Regions from separate parts of the Homo sapiens genome. Here region 1 is linked to region 2. The links are contacts of gene promoters, found by promoter capture Hi-C in human tissues and cell types (Jung and others, 2019). All regions are on one chromosome and are shown on one strand. Each heading gives the region's core, a stretch centred on a gene start or on the middle of the fragment in contact. The rest is flanking DNA. Distances are from core to core; before and after follow the strand shown. Region 1 overlaps FDX1 (ferredoxin 1). Region 2 holds the start of ARHGAP20 (Rho GTPase activating protein 20).

Evidence for each region. Contacts are between HindIII fragments. The study calls those that stand out against the background at their distance.
Region 1: a contact is called between a fragment that was not itself captured here and the fragment with the promoter of ARHGAP20 in region 2, in 1 of the 25 tissues and cell types used here (H1 embryonic stem cells).

The regions. Positions count from the first base shown.
Region 1 is chr11:110,438,265-110,444,647 of GRCh38, forward strand. All of the region lies in intron 2 of FDX1 (ferredoxin 1), which reads left to right. Among named protein-coding and RNA genes, the nearest start is that of FDX1, 12 kb to the left of the region's middle. The HindIII fragment of the contact is 5,261 bases long and covers 1,169-6,383 here.
Region 2 is chr11:110,708,236-110,715,376 of GRCh38, forward strand. It overlaps ARHGAP20 (Rho GTPase activating protein 20), which reads right to left and starts at 4,202. Exons shown (of 15, transcript NM_001384657.1): 1 at 3,892-4,202. The coding sequence starts at 3,996. RefSeq lists enhancers at 2,421-3,066, 4,049-4,550 and silencers at 4,074-4,133, 4,154-4,313. The HindIII fragment of the contact is 8,017 bases long and covers 1-7,141 here.

The sequences.
Region 1 (6,383 bases), core at 2,549-5,048, 270 kb before region 2:
CCTTTTCTCCGCAGCCTTGCCAACATCTGTAATTTTTTGACTTTTTAATGATATTCTTTATGACTGGTGCAAGATGGTATCTCATTGTGGTTTTGATTTGCAGAGTGGAGTATTTTTTCATGTTTCATGTTTGTTGACCACTTGTATGTCTTCTTTTTTAAATATTTATTTATTTATTTTTGACACAAAGTCTCACTGTCACCCAGGCTGGAGTGCAGTGGCGCAGTCTGGGCTCACTGCAACCTTCGCCTCCCAAGTTCAAGCGATTCTCCTGCCTCAGTCTCCTGAGTAGCTGGAATTATAAAGGTGTGCCACCACGGCTAGCAAATTTTTATATTTTTAGTAGTTTTATATTTTTATAATTTTATGATTATTTTCAAATTTTATATTTTTAGTTTTGCCGCATTGACCAGGCTGGTCTTGAATTCCTGACCTCAAGTGATCTGCCTACTTCGGCCTCCCAAAGTGCTGGGATTACAGGCGTGAGCCACCATGCCTGACTTCTGCCCGCTTTTTAATGAAGTTATTTGTTTTTTGCTTGTTGATCTGTTTAAGTTCCCTATTGATTCTGGATATTAGACCTTTGTTGGATTCATAGTTTGTGAATATTTTCTCTCATTCTGTAGGGTGTTTACTTTGTTTTTTTGTTTGTTTTTTGAGACGGAGTCTTGTTCTGTCGCCCAGGCTAGAGTGCAATGATGTGATCTCGGCTTGCTGATTCACCTCCACCTCCTGGGTTCAAGTGATTCTCCTGCCTCAGCCTCTTGAGTAGCTGGGATTACAGGCACTCACTACCACGCCCAGCTAATTTTTGTATTTTTAGTAGAGATAGGGTTTCACCATGTTGGCCAGGCTGGTCTGGAACTCCTGATCTCAAATGATCTGCCCACCTTGGCCTCCCAAGTACTGGGATTACAGGTGTCAGCCACCATGCCTGCTCTGCCCACTTCCCCCCAACCCCGAGACGGAGTCTCACTCTGTTGTCCAGGTTGGAGTGCAGTGCTACTGTCTTAGCTCACTGCACCCTTCACCTCCTGGGTTAAAGCAATTCTCCTACCTCAGCTTCCCGAGTACCTGGGATTACAGGTGCATGCTACCATGCCCGGCTAATTTTTTTGTATTTTTAGTAGAGATGGGGTTTCCCATGTTGGCCAGGCTAGTCTCGAACTCCTGACCTCATGATCTGCCCGATTTGGCCTCCCAAAGTGCTGGGATTACAGGTGTGAGCCACCACACCCGGCCCTCTGCCCACTTTTTAATGAGGTTATTTGTTTTTTGCTTGTTGATCTGTTTAAGTTCCCTATAGATTCTGGATATTAGACCTTTGTTGGATGCATAGATTGTGAATATTTTTTCTCATTTTCTAGGGTGTTTACTTTGTTGATAGTTTCTTTAATGTGTCGAAGCTCTTTAATCAGGTCCCATTTGTCAATTTTTGTTTTTGTTGCAATTGATTTTGAGGACTTAGTCATAAAAATTCTTTGCCGAGGCCAATTTCCAGGAGAGCATTTCTGAGGTTTTCTTCTAGGACTTTTGTAGCTTTAGATCTTACATTTAAGTCTTTAATCTATTTTGAGTTAAATTTTGTATACAGTGATAGGTAGGGGTCTAGTTTCATTTTTCTGCATATAATAGCCATCAATCCCAGCACTGTTTACTGAATAGGGAGTTCTTTCCTCATTGCTTATTTTTGTTGACTTTGTGAAAGATCAGATTTTCTAGATGTATGGCTTTATTTTTCGGGTCTCTATTCTGTTCCTTTGGTCTGTGTGTCTAGGTTTTCTAGGTTGTGTGCATAGGGGTGCTGATAATAGTCTCTAGGATCTTTGTATCTTTATGGGATTGGTTGTAATGCCATCTTTGTCATTTCTAATTATTCTTATTTGGATCATCTCTTTTTTTTTCTTTGTTAATCTAGCTAGTGGTCTATCCATTTTGTTTATTCTTTCAGAAAAGCAACTTTTGGTTTTGTTGATCCTTTGTATAGATTTTTGGGTCTCGATTTTGTTCAGTTCTGCTTTGAGTTTGTTATTTCTTCTGCTAGCTTTGGGTTTTTTGTTTTTCAAGTTCTTCTAGGTTAATTTTAGATTGTTAATTTGAGATCTTTCTAACTCCTCAATATAGGCGGTCAGTGCTCTAAACTTCATCTTAGCACTACTTTTGCTGCATCCCAGAGATTTTGGTATCTGTGTCTCTGCTTTTATTTATTTCAAAGAATTTTTTGATTTCTGCCATATGGTGGAGCCACTTTAGCTGGTAGAAATATTTTCTGATCTTTGACAGAATGGGTAAACCATGCTATTGTTTGTGTGCATTGGAAGTTGTGGCTGTTGTGCTGTTGAAAAAATTTAAATCTTAATATCTCATAACAGTGTTAACTAAACTTTCATTTAGTGATGGTGTGGTACTGAAATATGTCCCAAATCAATAACATTGGAATGGATGCTAAACATGATCTAACACAAAAAAAGGCTAAACAATCAGCCTGACGTTTGGTGCTGTTAATTTAGGTGTAGATACTGTAAAGACAAAAGTACTTAGAAAATAGGATTTTAAAAAGACATTACGGTAGGAATATTTTTAAGCTCACAAAAAAATCACTTGGTGAAGGGTAATGGAAAACAATACTGGTGGTCTGGCTGTGTCCACACCCAAATCTCATCTTGAATTCCCACCTGTTATAGGAGGGACCCAGTGGGAGGTAATTGAATCCTGGGGGCAGGTCTTTCTTATGCTGTTCTTGTGACAGTGAATAAATCTCACAAGATCTGACAATTTTATAAGAGGGAGTTTCCCTGCACAAGCTCTCTGCATGCCTGCTGCCATCCATGTAAGATATGACTTGCTTCTTCTTGCCTTCTGCCAGTATTGTGAGGCTTCCTCAGCCACATGGAACTGTAAGTCCATTAAACACTTTTTCCTGTATAAATTACCCAGTTTCGGATATGTCTTTGTCAGCAGTGTGAAAATGGACTAATAAAGCAAATTGGTACGAGGAGTAGGGTGCTGCTGAAAAGATACCCCAAATGTGGAAGCAACTTTGGAACCAGGTAACAGGCAGACATTGGAACAGTTTGGAGGGCTCAGGAGAAGATAGGAAAATATGGGAAAGTTTGGAACTCCCTAGAGACTTGTGGAATGGCTTTGGCCAAAATGCTGATAACGATATGGACAATGAAATTCAGGCTGAGGTGGTCTCAGATGGAGACGAGGAACTTGTTGGGAATTGGAGTAAAGGTGACTCTTGCTATGTTTTAGCAAAGAGACTAGCGCATTTTGCCCCTGCCCTAGAGATTTGTGGAACTTTGAACTTAAGAGATGATACTTAGGGTATCTGGCAGAAGAAATTTCTAAGCAGCAAATCATTCAAGAGGTGACTTGGGTGCTGTTAAAGGCATTCAGTTTTAAAAGGAAACAGCATAAAAAAGTTTGGAAAATTTGCAGCCTGACAATGTGATAGAAAAGAAAACCCCATTTTCTGGGGAAAAATTCAAGCTGGCTGCAGAAATTTGGGTAAGGAATGAGGAGCTGAAAGTTAATCCCTGAGATACTGGGGAAAATGTCTCCAGGGCATGTCAGAGATCTTCATGGCAGCCCCTCCCATCACAGGCCTGGAAGCCTAGGAGGAAAAAGTGGTTTTGTGGGCTGGGCCCAGGGCCCCCTTGCTGTGTACAGCCTAGGGACTTGGTGCTCTGTGTCCCAGCTGTCCCAGCTGTGGCTGAAAGGGGCCAATGTAGAGCTAGGGCCGTGGCTTCAGAGTGTGCAAACCTCAAGCCTTGGCAGCTTCCATGTGGTATTGAGCCTGCTAGTGTACAGAAGTCAAGAACTGGGGCTTGGGAACCTCCGCCTAGATTTCAGAGGATGTATGGAAATGCCTAGATGTTCCAGGCAGTAGTTTTTTGCAGGGCAGGGCTCTCATGGAGAACTTCTGCTAGGGCAGTGCAGAAGGGAAATGTGGGGTTGGAGCCCCCACACAGAGTCCCTATTGGGGCACCGCCTAGTGGAGCTGTGCGAAGAGGGCCACTGCCCTCCAAACCTCAGAATGGTAGATCCACTGACAGCTTGCATGATATGCCTGGAAAAGCCACAGACACTCAATGCCAGCCCATGAAAGCAGCCAGGAGGGAGGCTGTATCCTGCAAAGCCACAGGGGTGGAGCTGCCCAAGACCATGGGAACCCAGCTCTTGCATCAGTGTGACCTGGATGTGAGACATGTAGTCAAAGGAGATCATTTTGGAGCTTTAAGATTTGACTGCCCTGCTGGATTTTGGACTTGCATGGGGTCTGTAGCCCCTTTGTTTTGACCGATTTCTCCCATTTGGAATAGCTATATTTACCCAATGCCTGTACCCCCATTGTATCTAGGAAGTAACTAACTTGCTTTTGATTTTACAGGCTCATAGGCAGAAGGGACTTGCCTTATCTTGGATGAGACTTTGGACTGTGGACTTTTGAATTAATGCTGAAAAGAGTTAAGACTGTTGGAAAGGCATGATTGGTTTTGAAATGTGAGGACATGAGATTTGGGAGGGACCAGGGGCAGAATGATATGGTCTAGCCATGTCCCCTCCTATCCAGACCTCATCTTGAATTCCCACGGGTTGTGGGAGGGACCCAGTGGTAGGTAATTGAATCTTGGGGGCAGGTCTTTCCCATGCTGTTCTCCTGACAGTGAATAAGACTCACAATATCTGACAGTTTTATAAGGGGAGGGGGGTTCCCTGCACAAGCTCTCTGCCTGACGCCATCCATGTAAGATGTGACTTGTTCCTCGTTGCCTTCTGCCAGGATTGTGAGGCTTCCCCAGCCATTGTGGAACTGTAAGTTCATTAAACCCTTTTTCCTGTATAAATTACCCAGTTTCAGGTATGTCTTTATCAGCAGCATGAAAATGGACTAATACAATTGGTTACATAGTTGAAGACACAAAACTGTGGCAGTGTACCTCAGTCTGCAATGGCTGATGTTTATGGGTGCTGAAAATTCATCTTTACCCCTGCCCTGCCCCGCTACCTTTTTTTTTTCTGTAGGAAAATGTCTCAAGTTTTAAATTATGTAAAGCTTTCAGCACTAGCATCTTTGGTATAAAAAAAGATGATGGGATTTAGATTATCTTCCCTCCCCACCACATCATTTAACATGCCGTCTGTGGTTTTTGGACTTAATAATATCCTTTTTTTTTTTTTTTTTTTGAGACGTAGTTTTGCTCTTTTTGCCCAGGCTGGAATGCAATGGCACGATCTCGGCTCATTGCAACCTCTGCCTCCCTGGTTCAAGTGATTCTCCTGCCTTAGCCTCCTGAGTAGCTGGGATTACAGGTGTCTACCACCACGCCCACCTAATTTTTAAAATATTTTTAGCAGAGACGGGGTTTCACCATGTTGGGCAGGCTGGTTTCGAACTCCTGACCTCAAGTGATCCGCCTGCCTTGGCCTCCCAAAGTGCTAGAATTACAGGTGTGAGCCACTACGCCTTGGCCAACAGCTAATGCCCTTTCTGATTGGTGTGAGATGGTATCTCATTGTGGTTTTGATTTGCATTTCTCTGATGATTAGTGATGTGGAGCATTTTTTTCATGTTTGTTGGCTGCTTGTATGGCTTTTTTTGAGAAGTGTCTGTTCATGTCCTTTGCCTATTTTTTTAATGAGGTTGTTTTTTGCTTATTGATTTAAGTTCCCTATAGATTCTGGATATTAGACCTTTGTTAGATGCATAGTTGGTGAATATTTTCTCCCACTCTGTAGGTTGTCTGTTTACTTTGTTGATAGTTTTTTTTGCTGTCTAGAAGCTCTTTGTTTAATTAGATCCCACTTACCAATTTTTGCTTTTGTTGCAATTGCTTTTGGAGACTTAGCCAAAAATCCTTTGCCAATCCAATGTCTAGAAGAGTATTTCCTTGATTGTCTTTTTTATAGTTTGAGGTCTTAAATTTAAATCTTTGATCCATTTTGGGTTAATTTTTGTGTATGGTGAAAGGTAGGGAGTCCAAGTTCAGACTTCTGCCTATGGCTAGCCAGGCATCCCAGCACCATTATTGAATACGGAGTCTCTTAAAAAGAGTAAGTGCTGTCCGGGCGCGTTGGCTCATGCCTGTAATCCTGGCACTTTGGGAGGCCAAGGCAGGCAGATCACTTGAGGTCAGGAGTTTGAGACTAGCCTGGCCAACATGGTGAAGCCCCATCTCTACTAAAAATACAAAAATTAGCCAGGTGTGGTGGCATACACCTGTAGTCCCAGCTACTTGGGAGGCTGAGGCACCAGAATCACTTGAATCTGGGAGGCGGAGGTTGCAGTGAGCTGAGATTGTGCCTCTGTACTCCACCCTGGGTGACTGAGCAAGACTGTCTCAAAAAAAAAAGAAAATATATGTGTGTGTGTGTGT
Region 2 (7,141 bases), core at 2,952-5,451:
AAAAGGCAGATAATAATAAGTACTGGTGAAAATTTGGAGTAGGTGGACTCATATGCACTGCCAGGGGGAATATAAAACCACTTCGGAAAAAACAATGGACAGATTCTTAAAAAGTTCAATATATACCTAAAATATGACCCAGCTATTCCACACCTAAGTATTTACTCCCCCAAAATGAAGTCCATGCAAAGACTTATACATGAATGTTCACAGCAGTTTTGTGATAGCCTAAAACTGGAGATAATCCAAATGCCCATCAACAGATGAATGGATAAATAAATTGTAGTCTAGTCACATGATGGAATGCTGCTCAGCAATGAAATGAACTATCGATACACGCAAAACCATGGATAAACCTCAAAGTAATTGTATTGAATGAAACAAGCCAGACAAAAAAAGAATATAAAGTATGATTACATTTACAAAAAATCTTTGGAAGTGTGAATTAACCTACAGTGAGAGAAAACAGATTAGTGGTTGCCTGGGAATGGGGAGGGAATTAAGGAATTAGAAAGGGACATGAGGAAACTTTGGGGGATGACGAATATATTCCTTAGCTAAACTGTGGAGATGTTTTCACAAGCGTATATATATGTCAAAACTATTAAATTTATATACTTTAAATATGTGCAGTTTATTCTATATCAATTATACTTCAATGAAGCTGTTAAAAAATGTTTAGTTTCTCAGTCATGCCAGCCACATTTCAAGAGCTCAATAGCTACATGTAGCTAGTGGCTACTGAATGGACACTGTAGATAAAGGCGTTCCATCATTACACAATGTACCACTCAGTGGCACTACTCTCCCCTAATTAGGAGAGAGGAAACTACACCACAGAGACTCACCACTTGTTTCTCTAAACGAAGTTTTATTACAACACAGCTATGCCCATTCATTTCTTCATTGTCTATGGCTGCTTTAGCACTATAATGGCAGAACTGAGTAGCCTGTAACAAAGGGCCTACAAACCTTAAATATTTAGTATCTGGTCCTTTAAATAAAGGTTTGCTGACCCTGCTCTGAGCCATAAATTCTGAGGACGGGGCCATATCTGTCCTGTTCACTGCTGTACATAACCCAACTAATATTTACGGAAAATCTAATATATAGCAGACACTATTCTAGGTGCTGGAGAGGCAGCCCTAAGCAATACAGATAAGGTCCCTATTATCATAGTTTTCAATCTGGTGACAGATGTGGGTAACAGATAACAAGCAAGTAAATAAGAAAATATCAGGCCAGGATGAATGCTAAGATGACAATAAAGCAGAAGGTATAGAGAATGACTGAGGAGCACTTCCACTTAGGTAGTCAATGGCAGGCCTCTGCTAGAACCTACGATCTGACAATAATATGAAAGTCAGGACTGCAAAGACCTGGGGCTGAAGCACAGAGAAACACCATCAAGGCCTCAAAATAAGAATGAATTTGATGACTTGAAATATGAAGAGGAAGAAGGCCCATGTGGTTGGAGAATACACAAACAAGGGGGGGATGCATAGATGAGGTGGCAGAAGTAGACAGGGCCAAGAAAAAGGGGTCTGAATTTTATTATAAATGGATGAAAAGCCACTGCAGGATTTTAAGCAGGTAAGCAACATGATTAATTTACATTTTAAAAGATTATTCTGGTGCAAAGTGGTGACTGGATCAAAGAAGGGCAAGAAAGGTGTTAGGCAAGTTAAGACATTTCTGCAAAGGTACAAGTGAGAGATGGCGGCTTGGCTTGGACTACACTGGCAACAGTGGAGATGAAGTGGAGAAATTCAAGACACGTTCGGATTGACAATAGCTTCCCTGATGGATTGGTTGGTGCAGAGAGAGGAAATGAGTTGAAAACGAATCCTAGATTTTTGGCTTGAACAACTGGGACACAAAGGTATGAATTACAGATATAGGGATGTTGCAAACAGTAAGTGCTAACATTTATTAAATGTCTATTATATGTCATTATTCACTGAATTTCACATTTAATCTTCCCAACGATGTTGGAAAGGTAGGTACTGGTTTGTTAATGTGTGAACCTGTTAAGTTTCATAACAAACGACAGCATCTTAAGGACGGTGGCTATGATAAGTAAAAAGAATGTGGGAAAAGAGCGAAGCAACCCTTCATTTATTGGACAAGTATTACTTGATAAATGATAATAAAGCTCCTCTTTAATGCTTCCTCCCTTTGGCAGTGTTATACCCTTAGTAAAAAAAAAAGAAAAAAAGAAAAAACTGTTCAGAAAAATAAATCTTTGATTTTCTTCCAATTCCTTACGTTTACAAAAATAAAATGCTTTAAGTTTTAAAATTTATGTCAGTAAATGTAGGGCTAGCCTGATAAATTCACGTTTTATTTGGGAAGACTTGACTACACACACACACACTCCCTCCATCTCCGAAGGGGAAAAGCGACAAGGACAAACCGCAGCCTCAATACATCAAAGGCTGAGCTGGCACTACAGCCCATACATCATCAAGTTCACGGACACCCCTAGATGGCTCCGTGACACGGTCAAGGTCCTTGGGAACTCCCACACATTTCTATACTCGGCACACCGATCACCTCTCTTCAACTGACCTCTAGCCAACCTAAGATCCTGGTGGGAAGATTTATGAAAGGCAGTAAAATCAAGACAAGCAGGGAACCTGCGTAACCCCTTTAAGTCTCTAATGAAACAAATGCAATCCCTTAAGATATTTCTTAAGGAAAAGCTAGAAGATGCCTCTAATCGCAACTTGTTTCCAGAAAAGCTGGAAGGGCACCACTAAGACAAGGCAAAAAAAAAAAAAAAGGCAAAATATCGGAAAGTCTTATGCTGGAAGCGGGGGTGGGGAGGCGGGGGACAGGCAGACAGGGCTAGAAACACCCAAATCAATTCCTCAGGGAGCGAAACGGCAGAGGCCGGCAGCCCGCGGCCCACGTGCACTTGCTCAGGGAACCGTTCCAGCGAAACCTGACCCGGATCGGAATCCTCCCGCAGCACAGCGGCCGTGTTTATCGGAATGGAACGCTACAAGTTGTCACCTGCATCCCTCTCCCAGCTTTGACAGGGAACACGCGCTGCCCCCACGCCCACACCGACACCCGGATCCCTATCCAGCCCGGCCAGAGTCCCAGGGGCCAGGGACCAGTGCAGGGAGAAGGTCCCCCACCTCAGCCCTCAGGACCCCCAACCACAGCCCACCCGCCCCCACCCTGCTCGGTTCTAGGCCCAGCCGAACCTACATGTCCCCGTAGTGTCGAGCGTTATCATCCACAGTCGCCCCTCAAACTGTGACCCCCACCTGGGAGACCCGGAATCATCCAGGACCCTGGTGTGGGGGGCAGTACTCCCCATATCTGCCCCCCGAAAACTGCTATGGAGCAGCCGCGCCTCGGCGGGCAGGTGAGGGGGCCGAGCCCACCAGCGCCGCAGCCCCGCTGCCTACCTTCTTCAGCGCCGGCTGCCGCTCCCGGGCAGACATCGCCGGCCCTGACTTTGGGGCTGACACCGCCAAAGGGCAGTCAGTGCTCGCCCAGGCCACTTCGGGAGGCCCAGGGGCACGGCGAGGGGTCGGGGAAAGGCGATCGCCCACTACAGCCCGCGCGCCTAGACTGAGGGAGGAGCCGGGCTGCAGAACCGGCGGCGGATGGAGACGGGAGGGAGGCTGCGAGGTCGCTCGAGGAGAGACTAAGGCTCTAGAAACGGAGAAGCGGGCGCTCTGCGGGAGGCGGCGGCGCTGCCGCTGGCCGTCAAGGGCGGGAAGTGTTCTGGGACTCTCATTAGGGGCCGCGAGCCTCGAGCGTCAAATTCCCGCGGCGTCCGCCTAGCGCGCTGCTGTGGCGGGCGCGGAGGGCGCGCGCCGGCAGTGGGGGCTGCGGCGGCGGAGGGCACGGGCCCCCGCTCAGCGTCCTCACCTTCTTGGTGCAGCTGCCTCCCGCGAGCCGAGACACTCCTGTCAGGGAAGAGGAGCGCCCCGGCTGTCCCCCTAGAGTCTCCTGCTGGGGGGACATCGCTTCCATGAAGAAAATCTTCAAACAAATCCCAGCCCAGGAGGAGGCTACACGATCATGTCCGCGGGCTGCCGGCCGGAGGGGCGAGGACGCGCGGGCGGAGGCGCGGCTGCCGTGCTCAGGCAGGGAGCCGAGCTCCGGGTGCTCGCCGCGCGCCTCCCGTCGGGGCCATGTACCTCCGCCTGCGCTCGACACCGCGGGCTGGAGGCGAGTGCAGCGGCGACAGCCCGTCAGCGCCGCGGCCCGCCCCGCCTCGGGCCCGCCCCCTCCGCTCCGGGCGCCCTGCGCCGGGGCCCGCCCCCGCAGCCCTCCTCAGCCCTCCTCCAGCCTGGGCCCTCCTAGCCTCGTCCCAGCCTGCGGCGCGCCTGGCGGGCGTCTCTCTATATATGTTAGCACACCGGCCACCGGCTGACCTTTTCGGTCTGTGACTCCGCGTGGGTGCAGCCCGCAGGAGCTCATCGGCCTGTGTCACGCACGGGGGCCTCTAGTGCACGGACACGCGCCTCTCCCGCCACCTGCCCACTCCCACCAGACCCCATCCCTTCCCGCGCCGTGCCCGCGGCGGAAGGCGCCCCTGCAGCGCGTGCATCCGCGGAGCGGTGGCGACCTCAGCCTGAGCAGAGGAGTTGCAGTGATTCCTGCCTCGCTTTCAGCGGACTGCGGAGGGAATCCCCCACCCCACCCCACTGGGGATAGGGTGGCACGTCGCAGAGTGTCGCAGCTGTACAAATTTGGAAGCCCACAGCATCGCCTGACCTCTTGTGCAATCCCGAACGCTAGCCTGTTCGGGTAACCCTGAGTGGGCTTCTGCAGCCGGTCATGTCAGCGGCCCCTGCACATTTGCACCCGCGGTTTCCGCTGTCTGCAGGCTGCAGAGACGGGGGCATTCCAAACGTGAAAGAGCAATGAAGGAAAATGCAGACAGAGCGAGGACGCCGAAATTTGGCTAAGCTATTGAGAAGGCTACAATATGTGGAAGTGTTTATCAGATATCTGCGCCGAGAGCATAACTTCCTGTCAGCCCAAATAGAGGCAAAAATATTTTAAAGGCCAAAGAATAATCAGAGGGAGAGGATTTGGAGCTGACCCGCGTTGAGCTGAGTGTTGCTGCACTTTGCGGGGCTGGTTGACTGGTACGGATGATTCGGTAGATGGCATTCTTCCCTTGGAGTCAGGACTAGAGAAGCAGTGGCGGATTAGTGAGGAAGGACACCACGCTATGATATTAGGTTGTGGAAGGGGTTTGGTTTGCTTTTGTGGTAAGAAGAAAAAAATCGAGGTTCCTGCCAGGTTAGGCTGTTATTAGGACAGGTTGTAGAAGAATAGGGCTCTGGCCGGCTCTGTTCCAAGGAAGGGATGCTGTCCAACACACACTCGCGCGCGCACACATCACCACCATGCCCAGGAATGGTTTATTGTGGAAATAATAGGGGGAAAATGTTCCAGCCCGTTTTAAGCCTTGTCCACCTCACACTGTTTAAAGTAGGCTTACATAGGCTTTATAAATCACACACACGTATAAATCACACACACGTATAAATCACATGTATGATTTGTAAATCATCTATTATTGTGTTTATGTATGTGTGCATATACACACACAGTTTTTCATGGCTACTCTCTTTTTGCAGCTGAGACCCATGTGCAGCGACAGGACTTTGCCCCCACCATAGAGTTTGTCATGAATTCTACACGCAGAGGGCTTTGCAGTTCCTTTCATTCCTTGCTGAAATCATCCACTTACAACTCGTTAGCCTCTTTTGGTTCCTATCATAAATGCACGCTCCCAATTTTCCTTACTCTGTTTTATTTCGATAACACTTATCTCCTTCTAATATATCATGTAATTTACTTAGTATGTTTAGTGTTTATTATCTATATCTCAGAGAAATGCAAGCTTCCAGAGGGCAGGAATCTTTTGTGGGCTTTTGTTGTTGTTGTTGTTATTGTTGTTCTTTGTCGTATACCAAGTGCTTGAAGCAGTGTCTGGTGCAATAAATGTTCGTTTGCTAAGGGAATTAATGAGGCATACAAGGGTTATGAGATAGATCTTAGAAGGGCCAGACTGGTAGAGTTGGTTGTTTCACTCAGAGTGTCCCATGTTTCTGTTTGTGATCTTCTTTTTTGCACAGGTTTGATCTGTGATCAATACTACATGTTCCAAATCAAAGTAGTATTTTACTGCAGATTTGGAAAACTCACTCTTACTTCTTAATTTTTAAGTGCTTTTACTTCAAAACCCATTAGTTTTGGTTTGCATAGAAAACTGTCCCATACCTAAAGAAAACTGACTTTGCTCAGATTAATGCTATCACCAGAATCGTGTTTTAAGAACACAAATTTGATCACATCACTCCCCTGATTAAACCCTTCTTTGGCTCCTTGTGTTTACAGAATAAATTTCAAATGCCATAGTATGATATGCAAGACTGCCTATAAACAGACATCCTTGCCTCCACTTATTTCTCTTGTCATTTATTGCTCCTCTTCAACTCTCACCCTATTCCCTGTCACATTGAATTCGCCAAGAAGTCACCTTCCAAGAACTCGCCTTGCCTTCTCACATCTTTGTGACTTTGAACCTGCTGTTTGCATTGCGTGGGAAGTTTTCCTTCTATATTTCCAACCCCTATTACTTTACACTTAAATATCTAATACTTGGTGCATAGTAAATGCCCAGTAAATATTTGTTGAGGAAATAAATCTCCCAGATTTGAATCAATAATTACCTTAGAAAAATCTTCCTGACTTTATTTCTCCTTATCTAGCTACCTCCACACACCAACCATACACATGGGGCATCCACTGTAGGTAACATTTATTGATTGCTTACTTAATGCCAGTGAGTACCTGTGGGTAACAGGTAACATTTATTGAGTGCTTACTTAATGCCAGACACTGTTCTAAGCATTTTACACACATTAATTTAGTTATATCTTTATAATCTATGAGGTAGCTTCTTTTACTACCCCATTTTATAGATGAGAAAACCAAGCCACAAGGATATTAAGTAATATGCTCAAACAGCTAGTAAGTAGTCTTGCTGAGCTTAGAACATGGGAAGTCTGCTTCAGAACCTGTGTTCTTAGCCACGTGGCCAACTGCCTCTCCTGTGTGTATTTCTTTGTCTTTATAACACATATTACATTATACC